Regions from separate parts of the Homo sapiens genome. Here region 1 is linked to region 2. Evidence: promoter capture Hi-C in human tissues and cell types (Jung and others, 2019). All regions are on one chromosome and are shown on one strand. The core of a region is centred on a gene start or on the middle of the fragment in contact, and the rest is flanking DNA. Distances in the headings are between cores, read along the strand shown. Region 1 overlaps IL1RAPL1 (interleukin 1 receptor accessory protein like 1). Region 2 holds the start of IL1RAPL1 (interleukin 1 receptor accessory protein like 1).

Region 1 (7,285 bases), core at 2,880-5,379, 640 kb before region 2:
ACATTCAAATCCAAGGAACATATAGTAGGCATTAAAAAATATGTTTTAGTTACTAGCCTATATTTATGTCCCTAAAAATATAATGTGTGTTTTATTTTACGGTAAAATCATGTCTTATCATCTCTGTATCCATGTTTCATTTAAAGGAGTAGAACTACTTAAAAGTACAGACTCATTTATAAAATAAGAAATTATTTTTTTAAAACAAAAAGAACAAAAACAAAATTCACTAACATTTAATATATATTTAATGTAATATATTCAGAGTATATATCTACACTTAATTTCATTTATATTTAAATCTGTAATCTGATAAAACCATAAAGCCGACATTAAGACAAGATGCAACAGGCCTATATCCTTATCCACTAGATGGCTCTCTTATAATTCTAACTCATTATCTTGTTGTTCTAAGGAAAACTAAGAATTCACTCAAAGTATACTATGCCCAATCTTATCATTTGCTATGAATGCCATCCATAGCAACACCATTGAACCAAATGGAGAAAAACTCGAACTTTATGGCAAATCAGAAGTATGGCTTGTGAACCTTTATTGTTTAGCAGAGTTAGAAAATGACAGCTTTGCATGGTATACAGCAGTATTTCTAAACATGAGATCAGTAGATTCACACTGGGGGAGTCACCTACTGACTAACAATGTGTAGTTTGGGTTTCCATCTCACATCTCCCGAATCAGAATCACCTGGGGTAGGCGTAAACTAGGACTCTGTATAGTTACCAACTTTATGCACAAAGTTTGAGAATGCAGACCATGTCCAATGTCAATTAAGAAGAAACCCAGGGGAAGTATTATCCTGAAATGAATGCAAATTTCAATGTAAAGTTAGATAAGCCACCTACAGAAACAACCTCAAAGATTAAAGGAAAGAGATGTAAGAACAACCAACAGACACCACAAGGCTTTGTTGTAAATAAAACCAATTTTATGGTTTCACTCAGTCGTTAATTTGCCAAAATGTTCAACCTAAAACCAATATACAAGCTTCAGCGAACTCAGCGGGGTGGGTGCTTTTTATCAGAACCGGTTGCAAACTGCTGAGCAATATGGGATAAAAGCATTTGCACGGCTATAGTCTCACCCACAGAGATGATGTTTCTCATTTTGAAGGTCAGGCCATACATCACTGGCCCAATGTCAGAAAACATGCATCACCTCCACCTACACTGTGCCAGGTCAGTAAGAATATAAACAAAAGCAACTGCACAGAGCAGCCACCCTCTCAATAGCTCCATCCTCCTCAACCATCCTATCTGCAAACATGAAGCCAAAGAGAAGAATCCAGGTAGTGAAATTCAAGTCTGTTGCTTAAGACCAGAAATCCTAATATCTTGTAGCAGCAGATTCTGTTTTTTTCTGATGAATACAGGACAGACTTAACTTATAATACTGGATTACTTACAACAGCTCTCTTAAAAATGTCCCTGGGGCTTTGCCTATGTCTATTTCAGACTACCATGAGTTAGAGGCTCTCAGAGACTCCTGCTACCAGAGGTCTCACATATACGCTACAGGGCCCTCATCACAGAAAGTTCAAATTCCAGCTTCAGTCACATGTATTGCCTGTGGGGGATCACTAATAAAATAGGTGGTTGAAGAATGACCTGACCTAGTTGTAGGTCACTTCTTATTAACAATTTATTATGAATCACTTCATCAAATTAACTTGTGGTCATTTCATGGTTTTAGAAAGAAACTTTGGTAGGCCTAGAGATCCAGGAGAGAATGGGATGTGGGCTTTCAAGTTTTCAGTAGTATAAACGATTGTAGGAAGGGATGGGGAGATGAAATAGGCTGACAAAAAGCGCTGGTTGCCTGAGAGACAACAAGGTTTTTTTTTTTTTTTTTTTTTTTTTTTTTTTGGTAAAGGGACCATAATGATAGAGCATCTACAGGGGTCACAATAAAGTGAGTGGACTTGGGCAAAGGTTTTGATACTGTGGGGAGCAGACGCCTGAGAATGCTGAAACCACATCACCTAATTAACAGTACTCATTTTTCTACAGAATTCAAAATAAACTTTCAAACAATATGAAGCTTCAGTATGCCCTAAAGCTCCTAATTTAATACTTCTATATAATACAGTCAACTCCAAATCCTTTTGCACATATTTTCTTGTTTTTAACAGCTGGCTTCATCCCATTTCTTTAATACAGACTTACAGTGTATAGACATGCTTTGAAATCCATAAATGAGGCTGTCTTTATTTGAAATGAAGGCCTATCCTCTCAAAGACATTATAGCCAATAACTTCACAACAAATCAATCTCATGCAGACTAACTAGGTGAGTTATATGTCCATTATAAATTTCTTGTGATGGGTTGAGTCATTTAGCACGAAGGCTAAAAGGCTTAGAGCAACAATACAATGTTATATTCAATGCCACGTCAGCCAGTGGCCATGGATGCTCAGTAAATAGCAGTGTGCTGTGACTGATCATGTATCACACAGTTTGCAAGTACTGAAGATATAATAAGCTAAGTCAAGAAACAAAGGGAGTTTGGATTGTTTTTCTTACATTAACATGAAATACCCCAGATCACTTTAATATATATTCTGAAAGCATAAGAAAGGGTGGCTAATTAAAAAATATATATTTGATAATTCAGAACATCTTCCTTAACAAGCAGAGCTGTTTTGTGCTGAGAAATTTATGCTGGCATTGCATGCGAGGCATAAACTTTCATGACAGCAGGCAGTGTGAACGGAACCAATCTGATTGAGAAACAGATCCAGAAATATCCAAAGGAGAATTACATAGCCACCTTTCTCTCCACACCTTCCATGAGATGAACTTTCAAGTTTCCTGTACAAAAAAGGAAAGTTGCTTTTCTTCTTTCCATAAAGTGGTATAGCAACTTTAGTGGTAGAAATACATTTGAGATAGAATGAATTATTCAAAAGCTTAGACAAATCACAGGTACTATTTTTCAAGGTACACTTTAGAGAGTTTTTTTTTTTTAAAAATTATCATACAGAATGGGTTAAGACCAATAATTTCTTTTATGAAAATTCAAAATGTAATTTTCTGCAGAAAATTTAAGGCTAAAGCAGAGTTTCCAACACTTTTCAATTTTGGAAATTAGCATCATAAGAAGAGAACAAAGACTGACATTGGGTTTCTAATTTTTTGTTTCACCAAAACAAAAATACAAACAATGAAAGGGAAACGATGCCAATGAAACAGTAGGCTAACTGAAATATAATAAAGAACACTTCTTTAAAAGGAGAAATTTAATTTTATGAAAAAATGTATTGTATGTTGCTTATTTTTCTCATTCTGCCTCAAACTCATGCATGCCCTATCTTCCCTGGAACTTGTCCTTGGATGGGCCTTTAGAAACCCAGAGTTGAATATATGTAACCTCACAGCTCTTACTAAAGAAGCCAGTAATTGCAGCCCACCTCTACTGGCCACCACCCACGCACATCCAGAGTGGGCTGAGAAGTGCCTTGGAGCAGAGCAGGAAAGAAGTCCTTGAAATTTGGTGATCTTCAGGCAAGGCAACAAGGCAGATAGGGAATACGGATGATAGTGAAACAAAACAAATTGCATCACAAAAACACAGGCAGCAAAAGCCAGTCCACGGAAGACTACAGAACAAACTATTTAGCTTCCTCAACACATATACTGTTTAAATAAAAGAAAAAGATAAAGGAAGAAACCTATAGATTAAAAGAAACTTAATAGATTTTAAAAATTAGGCAAAACTGGCCAGGTGCGGTGGCTCACGCCTGTAATCCCAGCACTTTGGGAGGACGAGGCGGGTGGATCAGGAGGTCAGGAGTTTGAGACCAGCCTGGCTAACATGGTGAAACCGCATCTCTACTAAAAATACAAAAATTAGCCAGGTGTGGTGGCACGCATCTGTAATCCCAGCTACTCGGGAGGCTGAGGGAGGAGAATCGTTTGAACCCAGAAGGCGGAGGTTGCAGTGAGCAGAGATCGCATCACTGCACTCCAGCCTGGGTAACAGGGTGAGACTCTGTCTCACACACACACACACACACACACACACACACACACACACACTAGGCAAAACTAAACTACAGTGTTTAGGGATGCATATTTGAGTGACAAAACTATGAAGAAAAGTAAGGATGCCATTCCAAAAAATAAAATCATCATAATGGTCACAGTTGTGTGTGTGTGTGTGTGTGTGTGTGTGTGTGTGTGTGTGTGTGTGCACGCGTGTGTCCGGAGATGGTTATAAGAAGGCACGTGGAAAGTTTCTGGAATGGCTCGCAAGGTTCTAGCTTCTGACATCAAGGATAGTAATAAAGGCATTTGCCTTCATTAGTAATAAGAGTGTTCATTACCTGTAAATTTGTTTTGTAAATATTTTCAGTATTTGTATTATTATCTATAAAAATAAAATATATTTTTTAAGTGAAGAGTTTGGAGTCAGACAACCTGGTTTAAACCAAAACTCTGGCACTTACAATTTATGTAAAATGGGGATGCTGACGATCTCTATAGTACCCATTAAACAATGTAATCATGAAGATGAATAGATGTAAAGGTTATAGAAACTATTTCCAGATAGGAAATCCTTCATGGGTTTTAGCTATTATTATAGGAAATGGTTCTCTGTCTAGGAAGTAAGCAGTGGTAGATGCAAAGTGCTGCAAATGTATGAAGGACTTAGCAATATTCTGCACCATAATTTATTTTTTATTCATATTTCAAATTAAATTATTCATTCCAGAGAGTGCTTATTTTATGTCAAAAAAGTGATACAAGTTTACAATGAAAATCAATGGGAAATGGAATTCTGTTGATTATTACTTTGCATCCAAATTTATTGGAACTCATCCATTTCATTAACCAAGGCAGATCAAAGAAGTAGCTCTATGTGTTAAAAAGGAGACTGTCAAATTAAAAAGTCTTAGTCTGATTGAACCTCTCCTGATTGCAAATTAAAATATTAGGGATTTTTTGTTTGAATTCTTAAATTTAGATTAGGCTTTGAAAGGATTAAAAACTTCATTCATGAAAAGCTGGTCTTTAAAAACAATAACATTCAACAACTTTCCTTTTTAGCTTTTTTTTTTTGAAAAGGAGGCAAAGCTTTCTTAATACTACTAATTAATTATTATTCTTTAGTTTTAATTAATCATTGTGTTTTTTGACCTTTGGATTGTGTTACCATTATACACTGCTAGTTTTAGCAATTTTTAAAGCTCATTTTTTGGGTTCATTTCAGATCTATTTTCTATGCCAAATATGCTAATGATTGCATTTTAGAATGTTGATTATTCTAATAAAAACACTCTAAATTACCACATTAAATTTAATAGGATAAAAGCCAGTGTCCACGCAGGTGATTCAAATGTCTTGAAACTCCTATGACTAACATTAAAAAAAAAAAAATCTTCCATTCCTATGCAATTAGGAATATTAGTTTATAATAATGTTCTTTGGAGAATTCAATTTGTTTTAAGTCCCTGGAATGTTATTATTTTGTCTTTAATGATTTGCTACAGTTTTGGCATATCCATTCTATTTTAGCTCATTATTTGAGAACTTTATCAGGTAATAAGTATTTGTAGTATTAAATTGCATTTTTTGCACTGTCACTGACCAAAATTGATTACAGTTTTTTTTTCATCTGTTAAAAATGGACGAATCAGCCAGTACAGTGGCTCACGCCTGTAATCCCTGCACTTTGGGAGGCCGAGGCATGTGGATCGTCTGAGGTCAGGAGTTCAAGACCAGCCTGGCCAACGTGATGAAACCCCGTCTCTACTAAAAATACAAAAAAAATTAGCCAGATGTGGTGGCGGGCACTGTAATCCCAGCTACTCGGGAGGCTAAGGAAGGAAAATTGCTTGAACCCAGGAGGCGGAGGTTGCAGTGAGCCGAGATTGTGCCACTGCATTCCAAGAGCAAAACACCATTTCAAAAAAAAAAAAAAAAAGAAAGAAAGAAAAAAATGATGAAGCAACCTGTTTGCTAGGGGCTTAATGAGAATAATTAAAACAAAATACAACTGTGGAACATCATTATAACACTACTTTTCTCATAGTGAAATAAGTTAAACATCAAATGTGTCCTGAATTCTGGGACATAACTTATTCCAAATTTCATCTCATCAGGAGAGACTCAGATGTTCTGAGTAGGCCTCTAGAAGTATGAAAAGATATCATTCTATAAATATTGTACACAACAACTTTTATTATCCATCTAGACAGACAATGGTATTGACCATTTCAAATACACACTTCTATATACAGTACACTGTATAAGCTAGAAAATGCGTTAACATGAATCATCAATATGGAATCTTTCCTATCAGTGTAACAGTGCAGACCTGTGGTTTGCAGACCAATGGCATTGACACCACCTGGGAGTTTGTAGAAATACTGACTGACCACAATGGCCTTAATGGTCCCCCCCTCCCAACTTTAGACAAGCTTCTTTCTGACTATAGATAGGCCTATTACCTCCTTTTTTGTAGAGCGATTACTTTGGAAAATTTGCAATTGTAAATTCCTTCTCTGCCCCTTTCAGATGTAAACCTTCTACAACCTAGGAAATTCTTTCTCAAGGACCTGGGCGCCAATCCTTTGAAATGTAATCATCAAGAAAGATAGGGCCCTACTTCCCAGTCTCTATAGGAGTGTAGGAGCCTAACTTTGATAAGGTACCATTAGCAAACACAGGTGGCCTAATCATATTAACCAGCCCAATCACATTCTCCATCCTGCCTATGTCCTCCAGTACTTTTCCATTAGCTCACCCCAGCATTTAAAAATCCTTTCACCTTTTGCTTCAGTGGAAGAGTTGAGATGAAACTCTCTCCTATTACAACAGTCCTCAATAAAGTCTACTTTACCTGTTTAACCGATCTGTTCAATTTTTCTTTTACAAGACTCTCAGCCTCATGTCTGAATCCGAATTTGCAGTTTAACAAGATCCTCAGGTGTTTCCAGTGCCCAGTAAAGGTTGTGATGCACTGCTTTGGACAATAATATTGATCACTCTCTGCTGGTACTTAATAGTGCACAGGTCAAGATAAAACAGACTTGGAACGTGGAACATTACAATGTTAGATAAGCACGGATGTCTAACATGGAAATGTCAGATAAGCACCAGCTAGTTTAATGACATAATAATAAAAATATTCCTATTTCAATTATTTGAGTATTTCTTATTGTCTTTAAGTGCTCTTTCTGGGTATGTTCTAAAATACTCTGTGCTCCATTTGTCACTTACTGTTTTCAGTTGAAAAATTAAGTCAATGCTTTAAAGAAGACAAG
Region 2 (7,267 bases), core at 550-3,049:
GATTATGCACGACTTCCATCCATCTTCCTACATATCCACATATCTTCTCCCCTCCCCTTTGGATCAATCTACCAGGTGAGATTTATAACATATGTAAATGCTCCACTCTCTCATCACAGGCACTGAATATGGAACTTTAGCATTGCAGTACAGTGCACTGAACCACGTCATCAATATTGATTTCTTTATCCCATTTCCCAGGCAGAATATGCTTAAACATCCTTAGTGTTCTAGTCTCTAACTTTTTACCGAAAGGGTAAAATAGATGTAGCAGACAGGACACATCTTCAACTTAAGGTTAGGGGAAGTATGTAATTAATTGCCTGCATTTCCCAAGCTGGCTGCATTGCAATAAAAGGACGGTCTCTGCTTTCAGACCTTCGACTCCCCTGCACGTGGGTCTCAGCTTCAGCTATTTAGGATATTGGGTAAATAATTATATTATTGGGCAATTGAACTTGAGAAAGAAAGCACTGTGGTGATATTTAAGATAATGTTGCCTTATTCTTCTCTATGTTAGCCATCATTTTTAGCTTTTTCTTTTCTTTTCCTTTTTTCACTCTGAGTGATAATCCAGTAGATAAAAAAGTAGCCCAGGGCGCTTAATAATCTCCAGTAACCACAACCTAGAGAACAATTAACGATGATTATCACCTTAAAGTTTAAGAACTTGACAAGTGGGATGTCCCTGGTCCCATTGCGGCTGTGAAATGCAGCAGAATGCTGCACTGAGTTGAAAACATATTTCTTTTAATGCATAGAGAGTAGCTCGTTTCATTTTAAATGGGGCTCTTCACTAAGTGTTTCTTTTACTGCTGCTACCCCTTCCAGAACGCAGGGGCCACAAATATTACATTCAAACAAAGAGTGTCTACCCAGAATTAATTCAAGACACTCTTCCATATCAAAATAATTGGGGGAGAGAGTGATACTTTGATTTTCAATTGCACTCAGAATACGGGCACACATACATATACACACACACGCACACACACATACACACACACACACACACACACACACACACACACACACACATATCAACACACCCAACTGCAGTTATTCCATTCAGTGCCAATAACGGCCACATCACAGCCATCAATGCGATGCAGCAATCATTCAAGTCACCCATTCCCATTACAAATGCCCAAGTTTGCTCATGCCACTGATGGGTTTGCATATATAAAATGACCTTACCCACAACAGTCTTCCAAATTATTCTCCTCTGGATATTAGTCGGTAAGGTAATTGCTGGTCATCACAATGCGTATTCAGAAAAATCCACGTTTTACTCCTGTGTTCTTTTTCTTGTTTTTGCTAGCAATTAATATTGTGAACAAGATTCCCATTCACAAATGCCAAGTTCACCATAAAAGCAGATAATTCCATACAGATCTTCCCTACAAGACTGTCTCCAGTTAGTTCTCAAAGTGCCCGATTGTTTGCTGAAGATACAATCCAGGTGCAGAGCAGGAAAAAAAAAAACAGACTAGGAGAAAAATGAAGAGGCAGATAGAAAAGGAGAGACTGAGAGAGGAGAGAGCAGAAAAAGAGAGGGGAAAATAAGAATAATTCTTAAAAAATAAGGAAGGAAAAAAGCCGATAAGTGAGAAGTCTGCGAGCTCTATGACAAGAATTGGAGTGTTGCTTGCAAATCTTCTGAGTACATGCAGCCTTTCAAATCCTCCTGGTCCCCAAGTAAAATTTCCAGATCCGGGATGCAGCCATAAGAAAGAATCCTATGTATATTTCACAAGTATCCCGCAATAACAGATCCGACGGGGTTTTCCTTGTACAGTACTGCTATGTGAAAGCACACAACCCCTGCTGTTTGGGAAGGTGTCTCCTGGGTCCTAGCTCTCCTCAGCAGCCCCCAAAAATGATTTTTCAAAAAAGAGTCGGGGGGGGGGGTGGGAAAAGCAGCTTTGCGTTTGCCTTGAATGATGCTAATCCTGAGCGAAAACCACAAGCAAAACACGAATAGCACGAGATCTTGATTAATAGCCACAATCCACTCAAAATATCCCAGGGAAGAAGGAGCGAAAACAAGAAAGAGAAACTGCAACGCATAAATGATTCCAGTGTTTCTACAAGATCGGTTCATTTGATTGAATGCATTCTCTGGTTTGCTGCAAGTCATAAAGAGGATAGTATTACTGCCACCCAATGGATATTTTAGTACTAGCCAATCCACAGACAGCCACCGCTTTGCGAGTTTGAGTTCTCAGAAGACCGAAGTGGAAGGAAGGTAGCCTGGGAATCTTTTGGAAAGGACCCTGGGAGGCTTCAAATAACGGAAATCTGTTCTTCCAGGCAAAAGCAGACTGGCAAATTTGGATGCTTATACAGTCTTGCCTTAGCCACCTTAGAATTATGGTTCCATTTCTCTAGGAAGCAGAAAGATACAGAGAGTGATGCCTAAGCCGACACACTCTTGATAACCTCCTTTTCATCTCTTCTCTTTGAAGCAGATTTATTATTGCGCGCGACCCTCCCACCCCCATCACTGTCTCCCCAACGCCCCCATTCTCCGTATCACTTTAAGATGGATTACAAGAGAGAAGGGGTGCGGGGGCTGCTCCAAACAAACCTCAGGTGCTAAGATGATAATTGTTTCTAAAGGGCAGTTTTGCAAAAGTGCCTCTGTCTGTATTGATATGCAAACTGTGAGTCCTTCAAGCAGTAACCCTCCTCACAGCCGCGCTTTCAGTTTGGGGGAGGAGCAAAATCTTCCCTAAGTGAGTGGGGCTTGGGAGAAGGGTGCCTGTGGAAGGCTCTCTGGGAGTGCGGGGTGGGGGTGGGGAGTGGGAGGAGGAGCGGAGGGGAGGGTATTGAAGAGGATCCTCCTCCCATCCACCGCGTAATTGAGTTCCCTGCAAAAGAGTTCGCTGCTGGTTTCTGAGATGAATTTGTGATGAAGAAAGAGGGTCAAAGTAGGTACGGGTAAATACATTAGGTTATTTGCTCAATTTAAGGTCCTTGACCATTTACATTGGGATAGTATAACACTCACATGTGATTCCGTGATTCTCAAACTTTGATGTACACACCGTCACCTGGGTGTCTTGTTAAAATGCAGATTCGGATTCGGTACATCTGGAGTGAGGCCTGAGACCCTGCGTTTCTAATAAGCTCGCCCGTGGCCCATAATAATGTTGCTGGGCTGTGGACCACATTTGGAGTAGCAAGACCCTTAAAAAATGTTAATGTTTACACTGCAGCAACAGTGTCAGTTTCCGGCAGCTGAGTAGGCTGGATGATTAAAAGGCAGCGAGCCGCTTTTCTAGTTACTTCTCTCCCTCTCCCCACCCTGCAACCTTTCCCATTCAACACCGGCAGCCCATGTACTTAAAAACCTTAACCCATTTTGTAATGTATCCCACAAGCTTTTGTAATGGCAGGCTTAACCGGATAAACCAAAAATAGAATAAATAGGTAAAGTAGCCTTGGCCCTTCAGAACTGTTTTAATTTGGGGAGTAAAACACGCATCAAGATAAAGAAAACACTTTAAAAATTAGGTAAAATGTGAGCTAAACGAATACAAACTAAGCGCGCAGGTGAGAATAACAGCAGGCAGGGAGACTAGACAGGGAGGTAAAACTGTATTTCGAAAAAAGGAGCAGTACACTGAAATTTCCAACCTAAGCAGAGGGAAAATGTGGTTAAAGTCGGTAGGCAAGTCTTACAAGGTTTCTTTGAAGCTAACTCACCCATGTTCACATCTTCTGTGCCAGTGTTTTTCTTCCCTCTGCTTCTTCCCCACATGCTATAATTCAGCCTAAACTGAAGATTAGAAGTGAAGAGGAAATATATTCCCCTCCTTTCAACGTGAGTGATCTAGATTTTCTATACCTTCCATCACAGTCCTCTAGTTGACCCAGTTGAATGTGAATAGACCTCAAGCAGACCTGGAGGGGGGCACAAGTAACAAGTGTAAATGTAATTGCTTCAAGCAAAATTTAAAAGTAAACGTCTTGACCGTAGGCTCCAATCCTAGATTTGAGTCTAAATTCTACTCCTAAGTAGCCATAATTACCCAAGGGAATCACTTTAATTTCTCTTGGCCTCAGTTTCCTTGTCTATAAAATGACAGGTTGAAATTAACCAGTTGCCAACGTGCTGTCCAGCTCCATATGGTACAAAAATCACGTCCTCTCTTTGAAATGTTCTGCAAGTCAGTTTGTTACTGTACACAGAGAAGGAGTTATGATTATTACCTTGACATGGGCTGCAGAGAGCATCTAGAAGCTTTGAAAAGCATCTCGAGGACACAGGTGAACATTTGACCACTTCAATCCTATTTCAAGAGATGATTTAAAGTGCTTTCATTTCAAATGAAATGATCAGATCCAGGAAAGGAAGTGTTTGTTTGAATCTGAGGTGAAGCATTGTCTATTCCTGGATCCTACAGAGCCAACTGTGGGCCTCGCTGTTTGTTGCCATGGGATCCTCTTTGTGCGAACTATCTTGAACTGTGTGGGAACATTTTCCTCTTGCCTCCCTTCAGTTCTCTAACTCTTCTGAAGATATGTGTCAGAACAAAATGTAGCTGCATTATTGCCAATTAAGACTAACGGCAGCTGCAAGGTGCATCTAATTAAGAATTTTAATTACTTCACTGAATTCTCATTTGCAGATGTTTAGAGCATTCAACAATGTATTGTGATTTTTATTTTAAAATCTGAATAAAGCTGACCTCCCTCCAAAGGAGGGTGGAAAACTACACAACCCAATGATGGATATTTTTAAAAAAGAGTCTTTGACATGGAAAGTATATACCTTGATATATCATTTGAGAATATGCGACATTATATTGAGGATGAGGAAATAGAGTGCATATCCATAAATATGCCTTTTTTACTAAAGGAAAAGGCAAGCAAATCACAAAATACTGGAAACAAATTGATAATTTACTATTCAAGTAGAATCCTTGCATGCTACATAGTTCTCAAATATTCTGTTCTTTTTCTTTCCAGTAATATGATGGTTAACTGTAGGTTTGGCACTGCAGTATGGGGATTGTAGGCTATAATGCAAAGCATTATGGGGTTTGTAGTAAAAACTGGCTGCAGATCAATTCCATGCTTCTAGCTTTTCTCAGTTGAAGAAACTGCTGTTTTATTTTCTAGTAATAAAGAAGAATGTCAAGATACTGTACATTAGATTCATTTTAATGAAACAAGGTTGGTATTAATGGGAGTATGAAATTAAAGGTTAGCTACAGAAATATTCTGACTTGGGAGATGGAGAATATAACCCCACTTTACAAACCCCAAAATAAACTGAGTGAGCTATTTCCTAATATTACTATCCTATAGTTAAGGTTTCAAAAATCACTTTCATTGTTTTAGTAGTAAAACGTGAGAAAATATCAAATTTGGTATTTACGAAAGAGAATGATCAACACCTGAAATGAACTCAAGTTCTTATTGATTCTGTCTTTAACTATTGGTAGTTGAAATTTAATTCTTCACATTTCACGTCATTGAAGGCTATAATAATAGTTTGCTTTAGCGCAGCTTTTTGTGGATGGAGGCTTCTTTAAAGAGAGAAAGAGAGCCTACTCAGCTGCCAGCCACTCAGTGAAGTGAACAAGAGTTTTATTTAATCTACCTTTTTAGATACTTTTTATATAAAATTACTCTGAATATTCAGAGTAGCTTCTCTTTTTAATAAAATCCTTAAGGCTAGAATATCCTTAAGGTTAGGAAATATGTCTGAATTGGGTTATTTTATTCAGTTTAAATTTAATTATGGAAATGTATAAATTAAGAAGTTATAATTCAGTTCATTTTTGTGTGCAGATGATTCTATGTAGATAAATACATAATTTACAGAGGTTTTGATTTAATTCTGTTGGCAGTTTATTTCAAAGTTCACTAAACATTTTCCATATGATATGAATTCAAAGTCTAGCTCCCCACAATGCTCTATGAAATCAGCCCCCCTTTTGTTTTGAAGGCTAAAATACGTCTCTTCAAAGCCTCTTCCATCTGTGAAAGTTTCGATTATCATGCTAAGTTACTTAGAAGGTATTTTATACCTGAGGTTGCTTCTTTTTCTCTTTCTCTCCTTAAAGAAGCCTCCATCCACAAAAAGCTGCGCTAAAGCAAACTATTATTATAGCCTTGAATAAATGCAAAATCAAGTACTCTTCATTTTCAGGCCTTTTGCCAGCAATATTCATTTGAACCCACCACCACATATTCTCAAATGAGGTACAGACAAAGACTTGAGCATTTCAGCAAAATTCCACCATAAAGTTCAGGAATAATAAAGAATGCTATGAAAAAGCAAACAGCAACAGGAAAGAAAAATGCCATGCCTGCTTTTCTTTCAGATTTCTAAGTTTTGAATCATAAAAATATATAAATATATATCTTCTTGAATGCAGTTTACATTATTGTTCATACTGTGAATATTTCTTTTATGGTCATAAAAATAAAAGCAATGCCCCAAATGAAACACTGTGTACATAAGCGATGCAAATGCATCCCCGGTGGAAAGCCGGCTGGCTGCTGGTGGGAGGGTATATTTATACAGTGCCTTTCATTTGGAAGGTTCCCAAAATGATTTGCAAACTGTATATAGAGGAATGGCTCACCATGGAAATTCACCCACTTCCAGGAGAGAATGCAGAAGTCATTCCATGCTGACAGCCAGTTTAAATAAAACCGCAGAACAATATTTCAGGTGGGTGAAATATTAAAATTGTAATTGATTCAGGAAATGTGCCCTGGAAACCCACTATGTGCCAGGCATGGTTCAAAGTACTGAGGGTATCATTATGGATATATCTAGTTCAGTTTCCTGCTCTCCTAAAGCTTACATTTTATTAAAATCTAACCAGAACTTGGGAGTTACAAAGACCTATTTCCTGGTGAATTTCTGATCTCTGCATAGAGTTCTGCTGAAATAGACCACTTGCACTTTTTATATGTATTTATATCAGACTTCATGATATCCAGGACACAGAACCTGTGGCATATCTTCTACTTCAAATTGAACGCACAAAAAAATAGCTTCAGATATTGTGGTTGAAGCAGGTAAAATAATAATATTTCCTGCATTGAATGCTTTGGGGGTGGTAGGGCAGAATTCATACTCTTCTGGGTTTGGGAAAATAAATGAAACGGTATTGATGTAAATATATGGAAGATCACTTCCTCTGAAATGATTCAGGGCATTTCACGGTAATTACAGCGTATAAAATAGGTTTGATGAAGGAAGAGAACAGTGTGAGCTAATGTTTCCAAGTATAAAATA

What was found. The method cuts DNA at HindIII sites, captures the fragments that hold promoters and counts their contacts. A contact is called where the count stands out against the background at its distance.
Region 1: a fragment that was not itself captured here is called in contact with the fragment with the promoter of IL1RAPL1 in region 2 in 1 of the 25 tissues and cell types used here (hippocampus).

What each region holds. Positions count from the first base shown.
Region 1 is chrX:29,225,103-29,232,387 of GRCh38, reverse strand. All of the region lies in intron 2 of IL1RAPL1 (interleukin 1 receptor accessory protein like 1), which reads right to left. Among named protein-coding and RNA genes, the nearest start is that of MIR4666B, 350 kb to the left of the region's middle. RefSeq lists an enhancer at 6,086-6,959. The HindIII fragment of the contact is 3,274 bases long and covers 2,493-5,766 here.
Region 2 is chrX:28,581,978-28,589,244 of GRCh38, reverse strand. IL1RAPL1 (interleukin 1 receptor accessory protein like 1) reads right to left here and starts at 1,799. Exons shown (of 11, transcript NM_014271.4): 1 at 1,198-1,799. The HindIII fragment of the contact is 4,831 bases long and covers 1-3,818 here.